Linked DNA regions of Homo sapiens: regions 2, 3 and 4 are each linked to region 1. Evidence: promoter capture Hi-C in 16 types of primary human blood cells and fetal thymus (Javierre and others, 2016). All regions are on one chromosome and are shown on one strand. Each heading gives the region's core, a stretch centred on a gene start or on the middle of the fragment in contact. The rest is flanking DNA. Distances are from core to core; before and after follow the strand shown.

Evidence for each region. Contacts are between HindIII fragments. The CHiCAGO score rates a contact against its expected background, and 5 or more counts as called.
Region 2: a contact is called between a fragment that was not itself captured here and the fragment with the promoter of OR52B4 in region 1, in 2 of 17 cell types (monocytes and M2 macrophages). The highest score is 6.3, in monocytes.
Region 3: a contact is called between a fragment that was not itself captured here and the fragment with the promoter of OR52B4 in region 1, in 4 of 17 cell types (monocytes, M2 macrophages, M0 macrophages and 1 more). The highest score is 6.3, in monocytes.
Region 4: a contact is called between a fragment that was not itself captured here and the fragment with the promoter of OR52B4 in region 1, in 5 of 17 cell types (monocytes, neutrophils, M2 macrophages and 2 more). The highest score is 8.6, in monocytes.

Annotation. Positions count from the first base shown.
Region 1 is chr11:4,366,864-4,369,811 of GRCh38, reverse strand. It overlaps OR52B4 (olfactory receptor family 52 subfamily B member 4), which reads left to right and starts at 1,426. Exons shown (of 1, transcript NM_001005161.3): 1 at 1,426-2,549. The coding sequence starts at 1,517. The coding sequence ends at 2,461. The HindIII fragment of the contact is 6,509 bases long and covers 1-2,948 here.
Region 2 is chr11:4,537,714-4,540,661 of GRCh38, reverse strand. No RefSeq gene overlaps it. Among named protein-coding and RNA genes, the nearest start is that of OR52M1, 6.0 kb to the left of the region's middle. The HindIII fragment of the contact is 2,376 bases long and covers 323-2,698 here.
Region 3 is chr11:4,212,647-4,215,594 of GRCh38, reverse strand. No RefSeq gene overlaps it. Among named protein-coding and RNA genes, the nearest start is that of SSU72L5, 19 kb to the left of the region's middle. The HindIII fragment of the contact is 2,918 bases long and covers 114-2,948 here.
Region 4 is chr11:4,510,580-4,513,527 of GRCh38, reverse strand. No RefSeq gene overlaps it. Among named protein-coding and RNA genes, the nearest start is that of OR52K1, 29 kb to the right of the region's middle. The HindIII fragment of the contact is 4,695 bases long and covers 1-2,948 here.

The DNA.
Region 1 (2,948 bases), core at 177-2,676:
ACTAAGAGCCAATTATCCTCCCCAGAAAGAAGAGGATGCACCAAGAGTGTGAACTAGAATGGAAGAAAAAATATTACTGATCATAAGATATATCTTAGCCAACAACTAAATATTTTAAGATATTCCTTTATTTAATATCCTCAGAAACCCCATGAAGAGTGTATTTTATTATTTGTTGCCATTTCTTCATTCCATTGAAAATGGGATTCAATATGGCTGTCTTCTCAGAAGGCACTCTCTGAAGCCATTCCACATGGAACATTTAGTAAATCTATTTACTCACAAGCCCACCATTCTCTGAAACCATAAAGCTATTTAGGACTCAGGCACATAGCATGATGCAGGAAAAAATAGTCAATGCTCAAAATATGCCTGTGAATGAATCCACTAATGAGTGAAGAAGAATATTCTAGGAAGTAAATGATGAAGTTACATGTTCATTTCTACCAGCAGAAGAATTTCTCAAATATCAAGAACTGCAACCCCTCTTCATCCCCCAGAAATAACTCTTTACCTAATTTCAGTCACTTCTAAGCCTAGTTCCCTGGGGTGTGAGCACAAAGAGTGCCTCATCTCAGATAAAGAGGTACCTTGACCCTCTTCATAAGTGAGCAAACTGTATGTGGTGAAGTCAGAGGTTTCAAATCTCATTTCTATCAATTGCTGCTTTGTGACAAGTGGCAAGTTATTCACATTGTCTAAGACTCACTTTCCTTAAGTGTGAAATAGGGGTACTATCCAGTTCTAAGAGTGGATGTCTACTCCCTGCATTAAGAACGTACAAAGTGCAAACTACAGCCCGTGGCATAAAGTGATGCTTAATAAACATTAGCTAAATTCTCCTGCGACTGTAATACAATAAGATTTTGTCCACTCCTGGAACACCACTGGCCTTTTAGGCTTTAGTGTCTTCAATCAATCAACGTTCCAACAAATATCAACAGATCATCTTTCTAAACTAATGACTGCCCCTGTGTAAAGGATGGGGCCTAAGAGTGAAGTTGTGATCGAAGCCCTTCACATTCAGGAAAAACCTGCCTATACCATCACCTCCCTTGTTCTCCTCAGTACTCCTTATGCACCAGCCACCCTGGCCTGAAAATATTTCAGAAACATACTGTGCATTGATCTGTACACTCACCTTTTCTTATGCTACTTTCTTTCTCTCTTCATTATTAACTTTACGATAAACTACTCAATTTTAAGTATCACCTTATTCAGCTTTCCCACACAGAAATAATAATTTCCTCTGTATATTCATAATCCTCCATTCATAATTAAAGCGCATACAATAATGTCTCTTATTCTGATTACTTGGAGATATTGTCTGGCTGTCATTCATTAGAGTATAGACCACCACCTTTCATATTTGCATGTTTGTTATTTACATGTTCAAAGAAGACGAAGATTATGGAATATGCCATAAGCTCCTGGTGACATCGCAAAGAATGTTGCAGATTTTATCTTCTTCTACCTCTGTGAGTAGGAGGTGAGGTTCTGAAAGTTCTCCCCAGCTATGCCTACTGTAAACCACAGTGGCACTAGCCACACAGTCTTCCACTTGCTGGGCATCCCTGGCCTACAGGACCAGCACATGTGGATTTCTATCCCATTCTTCATTTCCTATGTCACCGCCCTTCTTGGGAACAGCCTGCTCATCTTCATTATCCTCACAAAGCGCAGCCTCCATGAACCCATGTACCTCTTCCTCTGCATGCTGGCTGGAGCAGACATTGTCCTCTCCACGTGCACCATTCCTCAGGCCTTAGCTATCTTCTGGTTCCGTGCTGGGGACATCTCCCTGGATCGTTGCATCACTCAGCTCTTCTTCATCCATTCCACCTTCATCTCTGAGTCAGGGATCTTGCTGGTGATGGCCTTTGACCACTATATTGCCATATGCTACCCACTGAGGTACACCACCATTCTTACAAATGCTCTGATCAAGAAAATTTGTGTGACTGTCTCTCTGAGAAGTTATGGTACAATTTTCCCTATCATATTTCTTTTAAAAAGATTGACTTTCTGCCAGAATAATATTATTCCACACACCTTTTGTGAACACATTGGCCTAGCCAAATATGCATGTAATGACATTCGAATAAACATTTGGTATGGGTTTTCCATTCTAATGTCGACGGTGGTCTTAGATGTTGTACTAATTTTTATTTCCTATATGCTGATTCTCCATGCTGTCTTCCACATGCCTTCTCCAGATGCTTGCCACAAAGCTCTCAACACATTTGGCTCCCATGTCTGCATCATCATCCTCTTTTATGGGTCTGGCATCTTCACAATCCTTACCCAGAGGTTTGGACGCCACATTCCACCTTGTATCCACATCCCGTTGGCTAATGTCTGCATTCTGGCTCCACCTATGCTGAATCCCATTATTTATGGGATCAAAACCAAGCAAATCCAGGAACAGGTGGTTCAGTTTTTGTTTATAAAACAGAAATAACTTTGGTTTAAGAACTGAGTTTTCAGAATCTCTAGCTATCTGGTAAGTGGGTATGAAAGTGGTAGATGGGAGAGGTCAGCTGATACCGTAGGAAATAACTCAGTGAGTACGATGTCTGGAGCAAGGTCAACTGGGAAGTTACAGGGCTTATTCTTCCATTTTTTAAACAACCTAGGAAAGCAATGCAATGTTTGACTGAACAAACTACCTCCTGCACAGAGCCTGAGAGAGAATAGATTGATTTTTCAGAAGTCATGTATCCTTAACAGGACAACACTATCATAATCTTCGGAAATAAAGTGGGAACAGTGCTCTGGCATTGGAATTTGTTCAGCCATCCTGTACTGAGTTTCTGAAGCTCTGAGACACGTTGTATTCATGTAAAGTCACGTACAAACCTCCATTCTTTTATGTCCTTCATTCTAGCTAAGTGACATTCTTAGAATCAGTGATTCCTAGGTTTTCCATTTATTTCTATTATGTTATA
Region 2 (2,948 bases), core at 261-2,760, 170 kb before region 1:
ATCTGTTTGGATAGTAGTTATAACTTGGATATTGCATATGAAGGGCCTAGTAAGACAAACATGACAAATGCTTAAACAGCATTATCAACATTACTGCTGTCCCTGTGTCTTCAGGAAGGGCTAGCTCTAAGCCTGGGAGATACAACCTGACCTTCTCTTTCAGGCTAGGAGCTAATATAGTCAGGGAAGGGGGCTAATGCAGTAGAATCATTATGTGAAGGATCTCATTTTCACTTCCACTCCCCTTTCAGAGGGTTCTAACTCTATAGAACCTCGGGAGAAGCTGGGAACTTCCAGAAGCTTGCAACCTGCTCCCCAAGCTTACATTTTACATTCTGTGTGAAATTGCTGGTAGTGGCCAAAATATACAGGATCCTTCTATCCTGCATGTATGCTGTACCCTTAGTCCTACTTTTTTATTTGGCTGTCAGTCTATACAGATTCATATCTAGATTTTGAAATTCATATCCAGATTCATATCTAGCATTTACCACCTCCAGTGGATAAACTCTGCTTTGACAAACTTAGTATCTGTCTATTCTGTATCTGGATGCCTTGTACAACATTTGAAAACTAAAAGTAGCCAATAAACCAACGTACTTGTTGAATTATCCTTAAGGTTACAGTAAGTCCTCATCCCTTAATTTGATGCACAAACTTTCAAAACCTCATTGTTCCAACTTAAGGGAGATATGCCTCAGATGTGCAGGAAAAAGTGTTACCTTTCACTATAGGAAAATATCTTAAGTTACACAGAAGAGATACATATTCAGTCTTGGAAACAGATCTGAATCAGAAGCAAACATTGACATTCTAACACTGTCCCCATTCTAACACTGTCCAGGAGAGGGCACCCTGGCCCCCAAATGAGATTATGCCACTGGCTGACGGGGCTCTGCAACACAAACATAGAGCTTGGTGTCGTTAAATATCTTAAACCTTCATTTGAATGCAACTACTCAGATTTTCCCATTCAATCCTATTTTATAGCTAGGTCTCCCATATGTGGGTCAATCAAAGATGAAAAGTCAGACCAACACAATACCAACAACAACAAGTTGAATATTGAATATTGGACTCTCAGTCTATAACTTTATCAGTTCAGTGTTATAATTTCTCTGAAATAAACATTGTTCATGTTCAATTCTAGAATAAAATTCTAAACTTGTTAGCCCAGATGCTTAATTGGAGTACATGGAGATATAAATACCAACTGAGGGACTTATATACATCTCTGAAGCCTGCGAATTTCCCTCAAATGGGAATACTGATGCTATAATAGGGAAAGCATTTTTCTTAAAGCCACCTTCCCAGCCTCACAAGAAGTACATCCAGGATTCTGGCTCTGAGATCAAACTTGAGCTCATTCTTGTCCATGACAGAAGTGGTATACTGCCATGGTTGAGTATAGACCACAGCCCCAGTGCCAGTTCTGACACTTACAAGATTTGTCTTTGACCAAGTTATGCCTAAATCTTTAGACTTCCTTTTTCACCCCGATCTCCATTCCTAAGTCTCATTTATTTTATTTCAATAATTTTTGGAAAGCGGGGGGTTTTGGTTACATGGGTTAGTGGTGATTTCTGAGACTTGGTGCACCTGTCACCTAAGCAGTAAATGCTGGACCCAGTGTGTAGCCTTCTATTCCTCACTCCCTCCCATCCTTCCTCACGGAGTCCCCAAAGTCCATTATATCATCCTTATGACTTTGCATCCTCATAGCTTAGCTCCCACTTATAAGTGAGGACATACAATATTTGGTTTTTCATTCCTGAATTACTGTCACTGAGAACAAGGGTCTCCAACTTTATTCAGGTTGCTGCAAATGCCATTATTTCACTCCTTTTTCTGGCTGAGTTGTATCCCATATTATGTATGTATACGCACCAATTTTCTCTATCTACTTGTTGGCTGATGGACATGTAGGCTGGTCCCACATTTTTGCAATTGTGAATTGGGCTGCTATAAACGTATATACAAATGTCTTCTTTATGTAATGTCTGATTGCTTTTGTGAGTTTACCTTCTGCAGGAACAACCCTATGAGAGAACAACTGTTTTTGAAACAGGGCCTCACTTTGCTGCCCAGGCTGGAGTGCAGCAGCACGAACATAGCTCACCACAGCCCCAACCTCCTGGGCTGAAGCTCATCCTCCTAAGCAGCTGGGACCAGAGGAACATGCCACCACACCCAGCTAATTTTTAATGAGATGTGAACTTCTTTAATCTCCACTTCTCAGATCAGAGATGTGAAGTACAGTCTAAGCAATTTGCCTAAGATTTCCACAGTGGTTAAAAGCAAAAGTTTTGGGTTTGTGTGCCCTAGGTTCAAATTCTACATCTTCCTTACATTGCGTGTACTGTGTTCTCAACTTTCTGGAACTCTTCCATAAATACTTATAAAATGTCAAACATTCCAAAACTACAACAGTGGGGGAAGGGGGAGCTTTTTAATCAAGAACAGTACTTACTCTTAGCCCTCAATGGTGGTCAATCTCTGTCTCATGCACCTCAATACAAAACAGATAAGTTTGGGGTTACTTATTACTGTTTCCAGAGTTTTGTTCTTCCATCTTTTGTCAAAAGCTCATGACCATATGGCATTAGCTGCAAATGTCACCCTTTTATTCCTCCTTACTTAAAGACATGTTGAAACTTATGGAAGAACATCATTGAGGATTTTTCTACCTGGATAAGCTTTCTACTTCATCCCAGTTTCTGGTATCCATGGAGAAGACTTAGACTCTGCAGACAAACCGTTCAACTCCATAACTGACTTCTGAACCTCCTCAGTCCCACTTTCATTTTTTTAAATTATACTTTAAGTTCTAGGGTACATGTGCACAACATGTAGGTTTGTTACATATGTATACATGTGCTGTGTTCGTTTGCTGCACCCGTTAACTCGTCATTTACATTAGGTATTTCTCCTAATGCTATCCCTCCCTC
Region 3 (2,948 bases), core at 323-2,822, 150 kb after region 1:
AGGTGAAGCTATCAGAGCCTAGTAAATTTTGCTGAGAAATTGTGATTTTATCCTGAGGTGCTGAGGATTTTAAGAAGTGAAATGAAATAACTAGATGTGCATTTTAGAAAGCTTAGTATAGCCACAATATAAAGAATTCGTTACGAGGGCAAGAATGGGGATTGGGGAGACCAGTCAGGAGCCTGTTTGGTAACCCAGGTGGGGTCAGGAAAATGGCAGAGGGCATGGAGAGAAGGAAGTCACACAGCTGATTCCAGAAGCCCTTTCTCTGACTAGAGAGAGGGTGACTTCTCTACTAAATCATTCTGCTGTTTCTTCTGTTCCCTCTAGACTCTAGTGCCTATGGCCAACCTTGGAAAGGCATGGCCAAAGCACCTGTGTGAGCCACTGCTACAGAATCTGGAGGAGCTGACATAGAGAAGAAACTCAGGTTCCTCCTGAAGGACCCATCCATGGAGAGGTCCTCCCAGATACCCTGGGGCGAGGTGATGAAGACCTGGGACAAGGCCCTCAGCCACAGGAAGAAGATGACCATGAAGAGCTTGGGGAAGCAAATGCAGAGAAAGGCCTGTGTGTGTGGTAAGTGTGGGAAGGATTTGTGTTTGCGGCAACCACCCTCTGCTGTTCTCCCTTTGCATCCTGCCTTCTTTCAGTTCTAGTTTTCCCTTTAGATCCTTTTTTTCCTTTCACCTCCTCATCACCCACCCCTTCACTTCCCTCCACTGTTTGCCCACCATCCCTTTTCCTCCTGTTCCTCATTAGCCTGTGTGTGTGTGTGTGTGTGTGTGTGTGTGTGTGTGTGTGTGTGTCCTTGATTACCTCCACCTGTTCTTTCCACTTGCCATTTCAAAGGTGAAATGTCCTGCTCTCACTCAGAGATAATGTAGCTCCTCACTAGGTGGAAAGCCAGCATATTTTCACATGTTCAGTGACCTTGCCTGGAAGGAAGTAAAAGTCAGTTGACCCCAAAAAGCCCATCGCCACCACCACCACCTCAAGACCAGAGTTCAGGGGCCATGTTCTGGGTCAGTGACCTACTGGTATCACCAGAGTGAAGCTGAAAGGGGCCAAGAAGATGTATAAGCAATTCCAGGAAGGTCTGTAATAAGACTTTGAGGAGAGCCAGAAAGAACTTTCCCCTCCTTGGCCAGAAGCAATGCACGCCACAGAGTTCTGAGGGAAAGGGCCCTAGCGCTGCTTTCCTGGGGAGTGAGGCGCACACTCCACACCCACCTGAGTCCCCTGTCCACTGTTTCCTGGATCCGGTTTTAGTCTGTTGTGCAGCTTCCCTAATAAGGGGTAAGTGTTTCTTTGGCTGGCTGAAAGAGGCCTGCTCCTTTCCTGGTGCTATGAATCCAGGTGGGACTGCAGTGGCTCTTCTATGGCCATTGACTGTGTGAGCCCCACGGTAAGGCGGGGAGGAGGCAGGACAGGATGCAGGCATCCAAAGACACCACTGTGAGCTCTCTGAGGGGTCAGAAGACACAGAGAGCCATCCCTTATCACTTAGGAAATTCTGAGTTATTGACAATAAATGTGGCAGGGTACAGGAGGAGAGAGCTCTTGTAATTAAGTGATTGCTTCAAATATATCACCGCCCTCTAGAGATGGGAAATACCTAGACCAAGAATTCTTTCAGAGCCATATCTCAGATACGACAGGACTTCCTGTCGTAAGATAATAAACAGTACCATACTTTAAAAGCCAGTATTTCTAGTATCATAGTATTACTGTGTTTCTCTCTGTTTATCCCTGAGCCCCAGGGAGGTCTTGTTAGAGTGTACCAGCACTGTGACAGCTGGCAGATGGGGCACTGAGAGCCGGAGGAGGTGAGGACCGGTCACTCCACAGGCCTCCCCGACGTCTGCAGCGCTTGTAGGGACATCTAAGGGGCCAGTGTGACTTAAATACACTGCATAAGTTTGAAATGCATGTAGTTTTAGCTTTTGTTAAAATGGTTTTCCTTTATAGTCAGTTTTGAGGGTTTTTTAAATGTTATAAACATCTTTTTCATTGTTACTACTTTTTTTCCGTTTTCGTCCATCCTAGAAAAAAAAAATGTTGCCCTCAAAATTATCTTGTCTTTCTGCAATTGCCTTTGAGAAGGCTCATCTTCTCCAGACACATTATCATCTGAAATCAGTAGACAATCTTGTATTCTGTGACTGAACCCAAGTTTATTTCATCCAAACAACTTCAAACACCCAAGCAACAATATATACCTAGTATATTTTAGGACATCAGTAATGTCCTTTAAAAAGTGAACCTTTTTTTAAGCTACATTTTCTCATGTGTGTTCATTGAGGTTCTTACAGAAAGCTGCACTGCACGGTTGTCGGCCCTTTTTAAAGTCAACAGTTGACTCAGAAATAAAATATACTTAAAAATCTTATTATTTCTTATATTTTAAGTTCAGTTTTTAAAACTTTCTAAAAAATGTTACCGGTCATTTTTAAGTAGCCATTACAACCTAGTTAATAAGTCTTCATAAAAAATTCAAAGTGTTTATAAATAATTACAGTTTTGATTTCCTTAAATATAGAGATTGATTTTCATTTTAAAAATGTTTTAATAAGTTTCTAACTAGTTCTTATAATCTAATAAAATAAATTTAGAATTATAGTGGATGTGAGGTTCTCATACATGTTGTTAACATAACTTGCTGAAATATTATTACACATTTCAATTTAAAATTACTTCTTGGTAATTATTTATATGCACATTTAAAAGTTGACGTCAGGCATGGTGGCTCACTCCTATAATCCTAGCACGTTGGAAGGCCGAGGCAAGATCACTTGAGCCCAGGAGTTCTTGATTAGGCTGGGCAACAGTGAGACCCCCAACTCTATTTTTAAAAATACATAAATAAAAGTTGAAATCTGTTAAGCACTATATCTGGTAGGTACTATAATATGCCAAATTATCTAAATATTACAAGATCATAAAGT
Region 4 (2,948 bases), core at 245-2,744, 140 kb before region 1:
AAAGTTTAGCCTAAACCCCTGAGCCCCTGACTATTAATAAATTTCTATGTCCTCAATCTATGCCTAACTCCAGGATCAAGTTGAGTCACATTTTATTTAATTTTCTCTATCGTCTTGACAATAAGAGGTGGTCATTCCTCCATCTTTATCAGGGTCTCTGCAGTCCAATGTCTGAATCTAACTATTGAGAGAAGATAGGCTTCTGTGAACATAATTTTAGTGCCAAATGTAATCTACTGATTAGTATCTTTTCCTCAACTCCAAATAGAAGTCTGGGCCGAAACTTATTTTACAGATGATCTCCTAATCGTAAGTCCAGGCATTGGAGAAGATGATACTCAAGTCCAACAGTAGCACCAGTGCTGAGGAAAGTGACCAGGACCTTTTCTCACAGGAGATCTCTTTGGCATAATGCCTAAAATCTTTTTATACCATGTAAAGCAGAGTGTGCATATAGTGCGGGGCTCTTAAAACCTGCCCTTAATTAAAACTAGTAGGATTAGTATTATACTAAAAACTTCCTGAAAGAATAACCTTAGAAAACCCATATCAAAGTATTTTTCCCTGGATCATCTGCTGGGTCTATCACAGACCAGGACCAAATACCAATCATTTCCAGTGTCTTCACATGGTGTTGAATGATAGCAGATAAAGAAAATATCACTTGTATGTATGCTACTAGTCTATCCAGGGACAAACACTCATGACAAGTTCTATCATACTTGGGGTATGACCTGAAGTACATTACAGCATTTAGTCCCACTGTCAGCAGTAGTCATGGGTAGGCCACTTCCTGGTGAAGGGGTTATCTCCAAACAGGATGGAAGGGAACATACACTGGAGAATGCATATTATAAAAATGAGACAAGCCCAACAATTGAATCTCTTATTCAAAGCCAATGTCACATTTCCCTGTCACACAAATGTTTCTTTCCCATCACTAAGACTTAAAGTGGAAATAAAATACACTACCGTCAACCCCTTTTGAGTCTGCAGGTTTTCACGGAAAAAAGCAAAGATTGGGAGACACTTGAGAGAGGAGGCATTATTGTGATTTTATGTTCTTAACAGGTGGCTAAGAACCTCTGCTCTGAAATCAAAGACAGAGATGGATCTGAAACAGTATCTGTCAGACCAGACATGTTGTATAATGTAAACCTCAGTTTCCTCTTGAAATGAAACTAATGGCAGCCCCTTACAGATATTTTATAAGGATGTGATAACGTAAAATGCTTCTCTAGTGCCTGGCACACAAAGAATAAAAACATGCCTCTTAATACTTACCATACACTAAAAGGCTCTGGGGGGTTGGAGGTGGTGATAATGTGAGAAGAGTAACTAGAACAAATTCCAGGAAAGGCCAGAGAATGTTCTCATAATGACTTATGAATGTACTGGTTTTGGCTTTAGAAAGCTCCCTCCATTTGCTTCTCTGCAGAAAGTTGTATAAACAGAGCCAGCTTTTCTCTGCTCCCCTTGACTGCCCGGCACCCACTCATGTACCTCTGAGGCTTTTCAACTAGAGTTACACCCACCTAATCAGCTCTGTGTTGGTAAAAAACAAAATACCTCTAGATAATTCCTTGTATAACAAGCATAAAACTTAGTCACAGATCCAGTTATGTAAAACTATAATTGCCTTCAGCTTTTTCTACATCAGCCAGAATGGGTCTTTGAATAAACATAAAATGAGTCATAGACAACAGCCACATTCTACCAAATCCAATTAACATTGATCTTAGTTGATTCTAGTTCATAATTCATTCTGATACAATTTTCAAAACACCCCCAGGAGTTTTTCTATCACCTTCATGTGTTAGATTTAAAACTGCAGTAGAGGATGAAATGGCCTTTTACAGAATTGTCACAATGGAAGTCACATGAAAGAGGAATGCCTTCTGCTTGCTGTTCCCTGTCTGGCCTTCAAGCCAGATGTGTCTTGTTCTGTAACATATGGTGCTGCCTCACATCATGACCTGTGGGCACTGACCCTCCTGGATTTTCTGGTATTGTTGATCCACTGAAATCAGTCGTAGGATCCTGGAAGAGACCAGCTGGTCCACATCTGTCTGGAACCCATCCTTCATCGTGACTGCAGGACTCTGTGCAAACTAGCCAGTATGATCATTGTTGCTCTTAGCCAAGTTCCTCATCTCGCTGTGCCCCAGGAGCGCTCAGAATTCACCCCACAGCACTGGGAGTCTTGGGAGCCTCAGCTTGAGGGTGTTGGGGGTGTGCTGATCCCAACGAATGTCTCCTCTACTGCCAGGCACCAGAGGATCTTTTGTGCTTAACCTAATCTGAAGCCAGGAAGAAAAACCTATTCTACCACTTTAGATCCTTATAGAACTCTTTTCTATATTTTGTGATCAAGACTTTTGAACTGAAAAGATAAGAATTGGATGTATTTGTTCTCTGACCTGATTTGACATCTCCCTGAGGTAAATGGTGAGTCCAGAATTTGCAGACAGAGTAGAAGTGGTCACAGAAGAAATGAAAATAATTCCCTAGGGAATTATTTGGGATATTCGTCTTTGTCTCCATAGTTTAATGTGACCATTCTTCATAAATTATGCACTGTCCTGCCATTCCTGAATACTTGGTCAGTCAGAATGGAGGCTTTTAGAGAAACATTTTTTCCTCCCTATCATTTGCAAACCTCAAAGTTATATTCATGGCAGAGTAGCCTCTGTCCTGCTAGAGAGGCTTAGTAAGAGGCCCTGGCTGTCAGGGCCTTCTCTGGCTGTACTCTAGAAGTTCAGGTATTGGCCCTGAGAAATGCCTCTGCAGAAAATCTGAGAATAAAAGCCTAAATCTGAGGGATATGACCTTCTGGAAATACTGCCTGACCAACACAAACCAGTATTATGTCTTCAGTGTTTTAAAATAGACTAATCTCTTTTTCAGGAAATATGGTTGACTACTTTTGTCTTCAGCAACTAGAGAAA